Linked DNA regions of Homo sapiens: region 2 is linked to region 1. Evidence: promoter capture Hi-C in 16 types of primary human blood cells and fetal thymus (Javierre and others, 2016). All regions are on one chromosome and are shown on one strand. The core of a region is centred on a gene start or on the middle of the fragment in contact, and the rest is flanking DNA. Distances in the headings are between cores, read along the strand shown. Region 1 overlaps TNS3 (tensin 3). Region 2 holds the start of LINC00525 (long intergenic non-protein coding RNA 525).

Evidence for each region. The method cuts DNA at HindIII sites, captures the fragments that hold promoters and counts their contacts. A CHiCAGO score of 5 or more calls a contact.
Region 2: the fragment with the promoter of LINC00525 here is called in contact with a fragment that was not itself captured in region 1 in 6 of 17 cell types (total B cells, naive B cells, M1 macrophages and 3 more); the score reaches 17.9 in total B cells.

The regions. Positions count from the first base shown.
Region 1 is chr7:47,492,425-47,498,997 of GRCh38, reverse strand. The region is part of intron 3 of TNS3 (tensin 3); the gene reads left to right. Among named protein-coding and RNA genes, the nearest start is that of SNORD151, 31 kb to the right of the region's middle. RefSeq lists enhancers at 1,252-1,331, 1,632-1,751, 4,818-5,409. The HindIII fragment of the contact is 1,379 bases long and covers 3,291-4,669 here.
Region 2 is chr7:47,758,899-47,765,471 of GRCh38, reverse strand. It overlaps LINC00525 (long intergenic non-protein coding RNA 525), which reads right to left and starts at 3,996. Exons shown (of 3, transcript NR_038407.1): 1 at 3,959-3,996; 2 at 1,894-2,099. The HindIII fragment of the contact is 4,383 bases long and covers 617-4,999 here.

The sequences.
Region 1 (6,573 bases), core at 2,731-5,230:
AGGTGGCCAGCAGGACCAAGCCACTGTCAACTGAGGAAGTGCGTCAGCTGGGCGACACCAGCTGCCAGCAGCTCGGGGCCTTGCCCTGTGGGGCTCTGCTCCTTGCACCGTCTCGGCATCTGCGGGGCTTTATGGTGACCCTGCTGGCATTCCACAGGCTGGGAAGTCACTGAGTTCGCCACTTTACACCAGAGGAAACAGGTCTTTGAAACTGGTGGTGACCTTTGGCCGGGCTGACGGGACCATGTTGGCTGTCTGGTTATGAGTGAAGTTCTCGCCCTGTGATGGCAGGTTTGTTTTTTAGTGCGGCATAAGTGTAAGCTATATTTGTGTAGGAAGTCCTAGCCCTGCCCCAAAAAGAGGCCAAAAGAGAATTATGATCTTTTGAAACAAGATATTTGTTTTAAATAAATAATATAATTTTAAAATGTATCCTGTGTTTTCTCTGAATCATCAGTTTTCATTCCACATTGTGTTGTAACAGATGAAACAACACATACCTGGAATGAATCTGCACCTATTTGCCACATCATTTTAACTACGTGGCCAGTAACCTAATTAGCAGCTCTGCAGCCAGCATCTGTATCTGTGTCCTGGGCAGGAGGCTAGAAGGTGCAGCCGGAGGGAGAATGTGGGTCCCTGCATCCTGCACGTGGCTCAGGCCAGGCCTGTCTGCCTTGACTCTCGGCATCTGTGAAATGAGGGTAACTTTCCATGGCACTGTGGTTACATGGGAGGGTAGGAGGCTGTTGGCAAGGGCACCCCGTGCCTGCAAGTGTGTTTTATTGATTAAACTAGGGCTTTCGAGGTGCCCTGGAAATCTTCTTCTGAACCCCACCTCTGTGTCTTTTGACCAGTTCTAACCTGAGAAAGAAGCTCTCCCTGCAGAACCTCCATTACTTGAGAAATAATTTGGACAAGCGTGCTGTTGGTTAAGGTTCACTCCCCACCTCCACCCTGCGGGATGTTGTTGGGTGTCTGTTTACCAGGGGTGTCACGGAGGAGAGAAGGGGCCAGCTGACCTCATGCAGCCAGGCTCTGATGACAGAGTGGGACACCCAGAGAAGATGAGGCCCCTGAATTCAAAACAGATGCCACTTTCATGGTGACAGTAATGAATGTTTGAGTGACTGCCCTGACTGGGTCAGATAGACCAGGGTGGGGAGCCCGGTCCTGGAGGGAGCCCCATATAGCTCGAGGGGCAGGGGACAGAGCAGCAAGGCCAGGCATCCATGGGCACACGTCGCTCCAGTGTAAACAAAAACAAAAGAAAAGAGCACGCGGTGAACATTTCCTGCTCTGTGTGTGTGTGTGTGTGTGTGTGTGTGTGTGTGTTCCATACGTGAAACTCTGTACTAGGCGAATACTTATTTTCTCTTGCCTGGCCTCTTTGGGAGAACAGAAGTACAAAATGGAAATTTGCATGTGTAGCTCTCAGAAGCAGCTTCTGAAACTTTGAGGACTCATAAAAGAGAAGAATGAATAACAGACCTGGGTCTGGATCCTGACTCTGCTTTGTCTTACCCATGTGACCTTGGGCTTCAGTTTCTTCCTCTATAAAACAGGAATTAACCCCTACTAAGAGGACTGCGGAGAACTGAATTCAACAGCTCCCCAAGCACAGGGCCTGGTGGCTTCTGCAGGAGTGCTCTTTTCCCCTTTTAATACCTTAATCTGCATCATTGTATTAGGAATCACTGTAGATGTCTACAGTGTCAGTTGCTGGAAACTACTCTTTCTGCAGTTGTGGTACTGACGCTAGTAGATTTATTTCATGAAATGTTGCCTACCGCTAGCATAAATCACTATGCATTTTATTTATTAACTGTTAAATGACAAGAAAGTATATATATTTTCTAAATTTTCTTCTGAGAATGGGGTCTGCTCTTTTAAGCAAACAAATTCCATTTAGTGGGCTTAATTAGTGCCTCAGACTTAGCCTGAGGCCCACCTGAAAGTGGTTCCATATGGCTAATGGCAGAGCCGTGGGCTTAATATTTTCTGACACTGGAATCCAAGTGCCTCTTGCTCGATGCTGCCTTGGTTCTGGCCAGCTCTGTGACCTTTCCCCTGACTGGCTGCCCTTCTTTCTACTCCCCCCAGCCTCCTGCATTTGCACAGGCTCACCCTGCCTTGGCTCACCCCACAGAGGACTTCCGTAGTCCTGGCCCACATCGCTGCAGCCAGGGTATCTGGGCCTAGGGCAGAGCTGGGTGCTGCAGGTGTCCCTGCCTGCTTGGTCTTGGACTTCTGATGTGATTTCCCACAAGCCCCTGACGAGCAGGTACAGATGCATCCCCAGCCCTCCGCCTCTCTCACCTGTGCCTGGCGTTCTGTACTGCGTGTGCGTGGACTCTCCCACTCAGACTCTGTTTGCGTTGGCCACCATCGCTTTTACTCCCGCTTCTCTTGAAACACGTTCTGGCCGGTGGTGTGCAGATGAGGGTTTATACCCTGCTGGGGGTGCAGCGGGCTGATTGGCAGCCTCTGCTGATTCCCCTGGTGAAAATACCTCACCTCCCCCCGCCTGCTTCCAAGCTACCAGCCTGACATTAATCAGCTTGAAACACTCCTGAAAATGCCATTTGGCTCCAGCACCTCCTGCCCATCAGCTCTGGTCACAGGGGAAACGTCCCTCCTTCCACACATGTGGCCCCAGGTGCTCTTTCTGCTGACTCTGGCTGCCATCTGCAGGAGCCCTTGGCCCCTTTCTAGAAGACCCCAAACTCTGTATTCCCCTGTGTGAGCTCACATCCTGTTCAGTGATGTCCTTTTTTGACGTGCTTATCTTACTACCCCTTTTTTCAGACCACCATTCAGTTTTTGAACTGCTCAGAGTCTATAATGTATGCTTCCTCCCATTATCCTGTCACCCCTCCTCCAGGCTCACTGGGGTCCTCTCCTCTCCTCAATCCAGGGCCTCTTCACCTCTGGGCTTCTGGGCTGGGTGGCATCGGGGCCTCTCCCCAGCCCTGTGGCACCGTGTGCTCCTTCTGGATCACAGCTCTTCCTCTCTGACCCTGCCTCTGGCTCTGTCCAGGTTAGAAATCCACTTGTCATAATGTGTGTGGTTTCGTCCACTGCTCTCCTGAGTGGTCTGTCCTTACCCCTTCCCTCTGCCGAGATGGAGGAGGAAGGTGTGCTGCAGTTGGGGAGCTGCAGAACGGCCTGTTCTCTTTCAATGTTTAGACACCATATGCAGTGCATCTTTTTAAAATTTCTACTACAGTCATTCTTCCACATGGATGCCACCCACCCTGGCATCTAGCAATGTCATCTCTGCAGAAGCTTATCTCCGGGACTTTCTGGCAGTCCTGGGCCCTGGCTCTGGCTGGGAGACTGCATTCTGGCTCTGAGTGTAGGTTCCCAGTGGGATCTTGTTCCTGAGACCTCTCTATGGCCCGTTCAGACTCAGGTCTTCCAGAGCCTGAGTTCAGGCTGGGAGAGGTGTTGGAAGCCCGCCCCTGTTGGGACATAACCATCCCTGTCAGGCTAGGAGAGACCTCTGCAGGCCTCGTCCTCAGGGCGGGGGTCGTGGCCCTGTGCCCACCATACTTCCAGATACCCCACTCTGTCTCGTGCAGCCCCTGCCCCAGACGCTGCCCTCTCATGTTGTCAGCGTGTGTGTCCATGAGTCTCAGCCCCCTAGACCACAGGACAGGCACTTAGTTGATGTGCGGCACTGAAGCCTGTGCTCTCTGGCGACTGCACCAGTGTTGCTGTGCATGCGCCTTCATGCCTCTCATTGAGACATGGCTTCACGTTCCATGGGGAGAAGAACGTTTCTTTTTTTTTTTTTTTTTTTTTGAGACGGAGTCTGGCTCTGTCGCCCAGGCTGGGGTGCAGTGGCGCAATCTCGGCTCACTGCAAGCTCCGCCTCCCGGGTTCACGCTATTCTCCTGCCTCAGCCTCCCGAGTAGCTGGGACTACAGGCGCCGGGGAGAAGAACGTTTCTAATCAAACCGCTGGCTTTATTTTTGTGGGGCTACTTCTGAAGGGTAGGTTTCCTAGTGAAGCCCCCATTTCTTCTTTTTTTCAGCCACATTTTTATCAGCGGGGCCAAAACCCATAACGAAGCATTCAAATCCCCACCTCCAGATTTTGAATTGTAAAATAAAACTTGTTTCACCATGGGTTTCCCCTTCCCCCCTTTTGTAAAGCAGTTAATTTTAGGCAGGGATTCAGGAAGTGCCTACTCCCATTTTCTGTCAAGCACAGAAATAGCTCGCGGGGCGCCCTCTCTCCGCCTCCCGGGAGCAGCTGGCGGAGTTCATTTTTGTGTGTTTCTAGGCATTTCAACTCCTGCCTTTCTGCGCACTGTGTGTGTGTCTGTGCACCCTCAACTCCAAATTACCCTGGAACTTTCCGAAGCCCGCAGGCTTCCTTTCTGTTCTTAATAAAGCGGTGTGCAAGGATCTGAGCTGTTAACCCTCCCTTATCACTGGAAACTGCCCCCTGTTCAGAAGGTCTTTAGAATAACAAACTCACAACTGTGTCTTTCAGGGGAGGTGGAGTGGATAGAATGGCTGAATGGTTGCAATACTGTGATGTGAGAAATTCTGCTTTCAGAATCTTTATCTAAAACCTTTCGCTTTTTCAGAGGTTTCTTTACTTCTAAAAAGCATTTGGAGGGGAGTCGATTGAACCTCAGGAGGTTGGTTAGAAAGCTTAGCACTGCCCAGCAAGAGCTGGAGTGGCCCAACCTTGAACAATGGGTGGGGTCAGTAGGAAGTAGACTTGTGGGCATTTTAAAGGTAGACCTGTTAGGATTGGCATACCCACCCGGTGGGTCAGAGGCACGGCTTGTGAGTAATCCTTAGGTTTTGAATTTGAGACACTGGGCAGAGAGGAATGCCACTGGCAGGATTTTGTGAACAGGGGTGGAAGTTTAGCTTTAGACCTGCAGGAACCAGTTTAGGTTTCATGGAATATGTTTATGTGGACATTAGAGTTAAATGGAATGCCATTATCAAGATTTTGTGAACAGGGGTGGCAGTTTAGCTTCAGACCAGCAGGAACTAGTTTGGGTTTCATGAAATATGCTTATGTGGACATTAGAGTTGGCCAGTTGGCCATTTGCAGCTCAATGCTTAATTTTAAAAGATTTGATAAGTTGTGAGCTCTTAGGGTTTCTCATGTTTTCTTTTCTTGTCAGCTTTTTTTTTTTTTTGAGACGGAGTCTCGCTCTGTTGCCCAGGCTGGAGTGCAGTGGCGCGATCTCGGCTCATTGCAAGCTCCGCCTCCTGGGTTCATGCCATTCTCCTGCCTCAGCCTCCCAAGTAGCTGGGACTACAGGCGCCCGCCACCATGCCCGGCTATTTTTTTTTTTTTTTTTGTATTTTTAGTAGAGACAGGGTTTCAGCGTGTTAGCCAGGATGGTCTCGATCTCCTGACCTCGTGATCCACCCGCCTTGGCCTCCCAAAGTGCTGGGATTACAGGTGTGAGCCACCGCGCCCGGCCTCTTGTCAGCCTTCTTTAGAGCAAAGGACAGTTGGTAAAACCCAAACTGTTCATCATGTGATTGTTAAACACTCTTGCCAAAATGTATTTCAGGGAAAATTTCTCTGGTGCCTACCTTTGTGGAATTTACCATTTTCTTCCCTGAATAACTGTTGTATGTTTATACCTTTTCTTCCATTTTAAACTGAATTTCGAAGGCAACTGCTAATTCTTTCTCATCTCCGAGTGCCCCGAAGTGTGATATTTGATATGCCATTCTGCAATGAATGAATGAATGAGAGGTTGAGACAACTGACCCAAAGTCTGGCGAAGTGACCAGCTCACTTATTTGTGCTATTCCTTTTCTTTACGGATGACCACTGAACATTGACTGTCAGAGCTCTGCGCTTCACTCTGGAGGGTGGTTTTATTCGAGATCTGGGCATCCCCTCCCTAGGGGTGACCACTTCCTCTGCCTTGTCATTAGCAACAGGTCAGTGGAAGCCAGGGCTTGATATGAAGAGCCTGCTATTGATTTCATATGGAAACCTCAGATGCCACAGACCCCCAAGAAGCAGGAGCTGGGGGTGGCATTAGCTGATGTCATCGCCCGAGGCTCTGCTCCCTGTGAGCTCAGTGCCGTCCTGATGAACGGGCCTTGGCTCTCACAGGCAGTGGGAGCTCCTCCTGCTCCAGAGCTCCATGTCCGGAACCCCGCCTTTCTCAGCATGAGGCTGGCGTGGTTGAAAATACAAACACCTGCTTGCCTGCTCCCTGGTGGATGTGGGGCCCACCCCTCATTTTAAAAGCCTCGGAAAACTGTGCTTTGTTTTAGTGTTACTGCCTCCTTGGACCTTTTCCTTTAAAATAAGAAGAGGATATTACAAAATCACAGGAGCAGAGGGTCATAACATTTCTGTGCTCTTCTCTTGAAGCAGAAATAAAAGCACATCTTATTTGTGTGTCTCCTGAAGAAGGGGCCTTGCCACTGGGCCTTGAGGCACAGGCACCTGCCCAGTAGGAGGTGGGCAGGTGGTTTTCCAGGCAGAGGGAGCAGCCTGGGCTGAGGCTCACAGGTGGGAGGTAGGGTTAGGCAAGGGAGTTGAGCCTGGACTATGTTGGCTGCAGGTGAG
Region 2 (6,573 bases), core at 2,747-5,246, 270 kb before region 1:
AAAAACCTGGACTCCCACCAAATGGAAAATGACATCTGCTGGCACATAGACCTTAGATAACAGAGGAACTGGGGACTGAACTCTGACTGCCATTTTTTGTTCTGAATTTCTTCCTGAGTGGCCTGGAGGAAGTCATGCCTACAGGTCGGAGCTCAGCATTCCTTTCTGTGGACCCCTAGGCTTTAGACAAAGTTTCACTCCCTTAACCAATTCGCAAATCAGAAAATCTTTGAATCTACCCATGACCTGTGCCTCGCCCCACACTTCAAGATATCCCACCTTTTTTGGCCAAACCAATGTAAGACCTCCATGTATTGATTTATGACTTTGCATGTAACTTCTGCCTTCCCACCTTTAAAAACCCTTACACTCAAGCCATTCGGGAGTTTAGGTCCTAGGCGAGAGCTATCCGGTTCTCCTTGCTTGGTGCCCTGTTATAAATGCCTCACTTTTTTCACTGCAAATCCCACTGTCAGTGTTTGGCTTTGCTGTGCCAGGATGGGTGGACCCAAGTTCGGTTTGGTAACAATAAAATGCAATACACTAGTTAAATGGATGTAGCTACATCTGTTGGCATTATCAAATTGCAAAAACATAATGTTCAGTGAAAAAAGCTTGTTAGAGACTGATGTAATCAACAAAAGTTCAATACTTTGCTATATATAGTTTATGGAGCCATTCATCTGTAGCATTAATGTAGCGTCATTCTGGGGATGAAAAACATCAGTTTAAGGACAGGGTGGGAAGCATGGAGAGGCTTCCATGATCCTTGTGTGTGTTGTTTCTTAAGGAAAAAGAGCTGATGAAAATCTGCCAAAATGTTACAGTTTTGTGTGTGAGAATATAGGCGTTCATTATGTTGTTTTTATGCTTTTCTGGATATTTGCAGTCAACCATAATTTCAGAATATCAGTGATGGTGGCGCTTCCCATTTTGTACCATCAATCTGTCTAAGATTCACAGAATTACCTCACATTTCCCTTTAAATATGAATCTTCGTTCTCACAGTTGGAGGCTTAATGTTTCCAAAGGTATAAATGTGGTTTTTTGTTTTTGTTTTTTTGAGACGGAGTCTCGCTCTGTCACCAGGCTAAAATGCAGTGGCGCGATCTCAACTGACTGACTCTGAACTCGGGGTTCAAGAGATTCTCCTGCCTCAGCCTCCCAAGTAGCTGGGACTACAGTCATGCGCCACCATGCCCAGCTAATTTTTTTATTTTTAGTAGAGACGGGGTTTCGCCATGTTGGCCAGGATGGTCTAGATCTCTTGACCTCATGATCCTCCTGCCTCAGCCTCCCAAAGTGCTGGGATTACAGGCGTGAGCCACCATGCCCGGACAAATATGTGTTTTTGTAGGTGGAAACTTCTCTCAAATTAAAACATCCTCTATACCAGAAACCTGGGGAAAAAACATCATTAGTTGGCCTGACAGGAAATCAGGCAGTTTTGTTTTTTTTAAACAAAAAAAAAAAACATTAAAGTCCTAATGTGGAGGCAGAGAAAAACCCATGCTGCTCACTGTCTGTGGCCTGATGCCTCCATCTCTTTCTGCGGGACCTTTGTCCCAGGTCTCCCTCTCCTGACCTAGATGAATGAATGAAATGAACTAATGTGTACACAGACTCTGTGTACATATGGCTTTGATTTGGGAGAAAAGATGAATCACTCTGAGCTGGTAATCTGATCTTTGCCCTTCTGCTAGTAAACAGTTGAAAGATAACTCAATACATTCTCCGTCTGCCTTTTAAAACCAGAATAGCAAATAAAGGCCCTAGAGGGGCCTGGTTTGGATGGGGGAAGCCATTTATCACCTTCAGGGAAAAGAGAATGTAAATAGGTCCACATTTATTCTCCGGTCCTCCCGTGGCCACGACAGCCTTAGAAATACTCACCTTGTTTCAGTTAGCAGGCCAAGGGTCAGCGGTCAACAGAGCTGCTCCAGCAAGCTCTGTGTGGTGCCTCAAACAGGCCACACAAAGAGATGCTGTTTAAAATCGGAATTCCTTTCACCCTGAGTAAGTTTCCAAAGCAAAGGGGTCACCCGGTGAGTGTTGGTGCAGTCCTCACTGTTTGTCCTGCCTCTTGCTACAGAGGACATCTGGCAAAAGCAGATCAGAAAATGAAAGAAGTCTGTCCCAGTTCTGCCCTCCCCAGGTGGTAGAATTTCTCATGCGATTGTTGCTTGGGGTGTGTCACTCTGTACTTGAGTAGGTGGAGGGTGAACAGACTGATCAGCTGGCTATGAGATGAGAGCAGGATGATGATCATTCACTGGGATGTGTCTGGCCAACTGGGAAGAGTCAGGTAGCTCAAGGCCTGGAGATTCTCATCAGGGAGAGCACAATGGGGCCAGGCCTATAGCTGAGGTCCAGGCACAGAGGCTGGGCTATGAGAACCAGTGTCCTCAGTGACTGCGACAATGACATGTCCTCTGTCACCACCTGCTACCGTGAGGCCCCAGCCCCGGCTGACCTGTAGACTCAGATCTGGGCCTGAGAGGGAGGCTTGACTTCAGCCCCTCTCATGAACAGAATCCACAGCACCAGGGCTGAGAGTGGTGGCAGGGCCCAGGAACAGTGATATCCAGTAGAATAAGTGTGACCCACCCCAGCCCCCCACAAACCAGAGGGAGTGCTGAGCACCTCCGCCCAGCCTCAGGCAGCTGACTTCACTAAAGGAGGCCAAAAGGAAAGAAAAATGTGACAAGTGTGTTTTGATGGCTGATGCGCAGGCTCCCAGAGAACCTTCAGAAATCAGGTGGGAGTTGGAAAGATTTTTGAATTGTCCTCCTGCAATAGCATGTTGAAGAAAAACTAGCTAAATATACTTTATGTGTAATTCCATGTCCATATGCATGATTTCTTAGGTGGCAACCAAAGGCAAGGAGTTCCTGTGCAAATGGTATTGCCAATATTAAGGTTCTCAATACAGTATATATTTTGTTGTATTCATTTGCTAGGGCTGCCAGAACAAAGTTCCACAAATTGGTTGCCTTAAACAACAAAAATGCATTGTCTCACAATTTCTGGAGGACAGAAGTCTAAGATCAAGGTGTTGGCAGTGTTGTTCCTTCTAAAGGCTGAAGGAGAATCTGTTGCAGGCCTCTCTCCTTGGCTTGAGGACAACCATCTTCTCTCTGTGTCTCTTCCCATCATCTTCCCTCCAGGCATGTCTGGGTCCAAATTTCCCCTTTTTATTATTTTTTATGTATTTATTAATTTTTTTTTTGAGATGGAGTTTCACTCTTGTTGCCCAGCCTGGAGTGCAATGGCGCAATCTCGGCTCACTGCAACCTCTGCCTCCCGGGTTCAAGCGATTCTGCTGCCTTAGCCTCCCAAGTAGCTGGGATTACAGGTGCCTGCCACCATGCCCAGCTATTTTTTTTTCTTGTATTTTTAGTAGAGATAGGGTTTCTCCATGTTGGCCAGACTGGTCTTGAACTCCTGACCTCAGGTGATCCACCCACCTCGGCCTCCCAAAGTGCTGGGATTACAGGCATGAGCCACCATGCCCAGCCAAATCTCCTCTTCTTTATAAGGACACCGGTCATATTGGATGAGTCATATTGGATTACATGCCCACTCTACTCTAGTATAACCTCATTTTAATTTGATCACATTTTCAAAAACCCTGTTTCCAAATGCAGTTGCATTCTGAGGTACTAGGGGTTAGGACTTGGACATAGACATTTTGGGGGACACAATTCAACCCTTATTTGCCAAATCACTTTTTAGAATGATTAAGGCAATTAATGATCTTCTTAAAGTGAAGAAACAACCCACAGAATGGGAGAAAATATTTGCAAACTACCCATCTGACAAGGAATTAATAACCAGAATATATAAGGAGCTCAAACAACTCAACAGGAAAACATCTAGTAATCCAATCAGAAATCAAAATCTAGTAATCCAAATAAAAAATCAGAAATGAATAGATATTTCTCAAAAGAAGACTTACAAATGGCAAACAGGCATATGAAAAGGTGGTCATCGTCACTGATCATCAGAGAAATGCAAATCAAAACTACAATGAGATATCTCACCCCAGTTAAAATGGCTTTTATCCAAAAGACAGGCAATAACAAATGCTGGTGAGGATGTGGAGAAAAGGGAACACTAGTATATTGTTAGTGGGAATGTAAATTAGTACAACCACTATGGAGAACAGTTGGGAGGTTCCTCAAAAAACTAAAAATAGAACTAGCATATGATCCAGCAATCCCAGTGCTGGGTCTATACCCAAAAGGAAGGAAATCAGTATATTGAAGAGATATCTGCACTCCCATGTTTGTTGCAGCACTGTTCACAATAGCTAAGACTTAGAAGCAAATTTACAGTCCATCAACAGATGAACAGATAAAGAAAATGTGGTACATATACACAATGGAGTACTATTCAGCCATAAAAAGAATGAGATCCTGTCATTTGCAACAACATGGATGGAACGAAACTGGAGGACATTATGTTAAGTGAAATAAGCCAGGCACAGAAAGACAAACATCACATGTTCTCACTTATTTGTGGGATCTAAAAATCGAAACCATTGAAATCATGGACATAGAGAATAGGAAGGATGATTACCAGAGGCTGAAAAGGATAGTAGAGGACTGGGGAGATAAGGTGGGAATGGTTCATGGGTACCAAAAAAAAAAATAGAAGAATGAATAATACCTACTATTTGATAGCACGACAGGGAGACTATAGTCAATAATAATTTAAGTGTACATTTTAAAATAATTAAAAGTATAATTGGATTGTTTATACCACAAAGAATAAATGCTTGAGGGTATGGATACCCCATTCTTCATGATGTGCCTATTTCACATTGCATGCCTGTATTAAAACATCCCACGTACCCCATAAATATATACCCCTACTGTGTACCCACAAAAATTAAAAATAAAAAATTTTTTAATCTTGTCAACAGTGTATTAGGACATTGTGTTGTTGCAATTTCCTTAGCATCAAGTTCCGTCTTTAAAAAAAAAAAAAAAAAGCTTACTGATAGGTTTTTAGAGCCTGGTAATTCATTCTTTTTTGTTTTTTGTTTTTGCTCCGTTGCCCAGCCTGGAGTGCAGTGGCACAATCTGGGCTCACTGCAACCTCCGCCCCCTGGGTTCAAGCAATTCTTCTGCCTCAGCCTCCCAAGTAGCTGGGATTTTAGGTGCCAGCCACCACACCCGGCTAATTTTTGTATTTTTAGTAGAGATGAGGTTTTGCCATGTTGGCCAGGCTGGTCTCAAACTCCTGACCTCAGGGGATCCACCCGCTTCAGCCTCCCAAAGTGCTGGGATTACAGGCATGAGCCACTGTGCCCGGTCGGTAATTCATTCTTAAGTAAACTGGCCATATATGAATTGGCCATTTGAGTTCTTTCACAAAATATAAGACTATTTCCCCCCTTACAGTAGCTATTGTTGAATAAGATGCCAAGAAGGACAGCCAGCAATAGAGAATCAGTGCACAGATGCACTGGCAGGATTACCGGGTACATCTCCACCTCACTAACACCTTCTAGAGGTCACCATGAGCGTGGTGGGAAGCAATTTAGAATCAGAAGCACAGGGGTTCAAATCCCAGCTCTGGGACTTTCTAAATGTGCTCTTTTTCCAACTTTTTGAAGCCTGTATTATCTTATACGAAAAATCTTATCCTCTTCACCCAACTTTTCAAGGATTAAAAAATCCTCACATGGCATATTGCTGCACCACACTCTGTGGTGCATTATGGATGTCCAGTAAGGTGCATGGACCCTAAAGCTGCTCTGAGGACCAGATTCTCCCCATGGAGTAAACAGGCCACAGGTTGTTAAGGGAACCAGATGCTCGTGAACAACAGACCATTCATATGGATTAGCGAGTTTCTGCAAGGAAGAAGAGGGCTTGATCATCTCATTATTTGTTTCATGTGTCAGAATTGAATCACAGTGGAGCATTCATTGACCTAAAATTAAATTACTTGTCATATTTTTTATTCAACCATTTCCTCCTTTCCTTGGTAAATATAATTTTTTCTCATTCTAATGAAGCTCCTTGGAAACATCAAATCACTGCTTTATTTTAATCAGAGTAATTAACCAGTGATGGATGAGGCACAGGTAGCACGTGGATTTGGTGGGGGAATCTTCAGTAAGCAAAGGGTGGTGCCAGGGTGGCTTTACATTGGTCCCTGGAAGAGTGGTGAAGTTGTGCCCACACCCCGAAATGTGTAAGATCAGCTGTGACCCCTGGTGGAGCAAGAAAGCAAGGCTGTGAAAAATATAAATTGTCTTATCATTTTCTTAGAAACAAAAGACAACTCTAACTCAATAATTACCTTCTGTGTATCTATTCTCTTAGAAGTCAAGGAAAACCCTATCTATAGAATTTATCTCATCATCAGTTTATCCTCATAAAATAGATTCTTTCAAATCAGCCCCACTTCCAATTTTGAAATGGATCTTACCCCTATTCAGATAAAGTCTGAGTTCATTGTGCACCTTCACCTTTCTGTATGTAGGTCTTGGTCACACCAATGGACGCGCCAGGCCCAGGCTGTGGGTGCTTCCTGGGCTCTCTGTCTGTCACTTCTCCT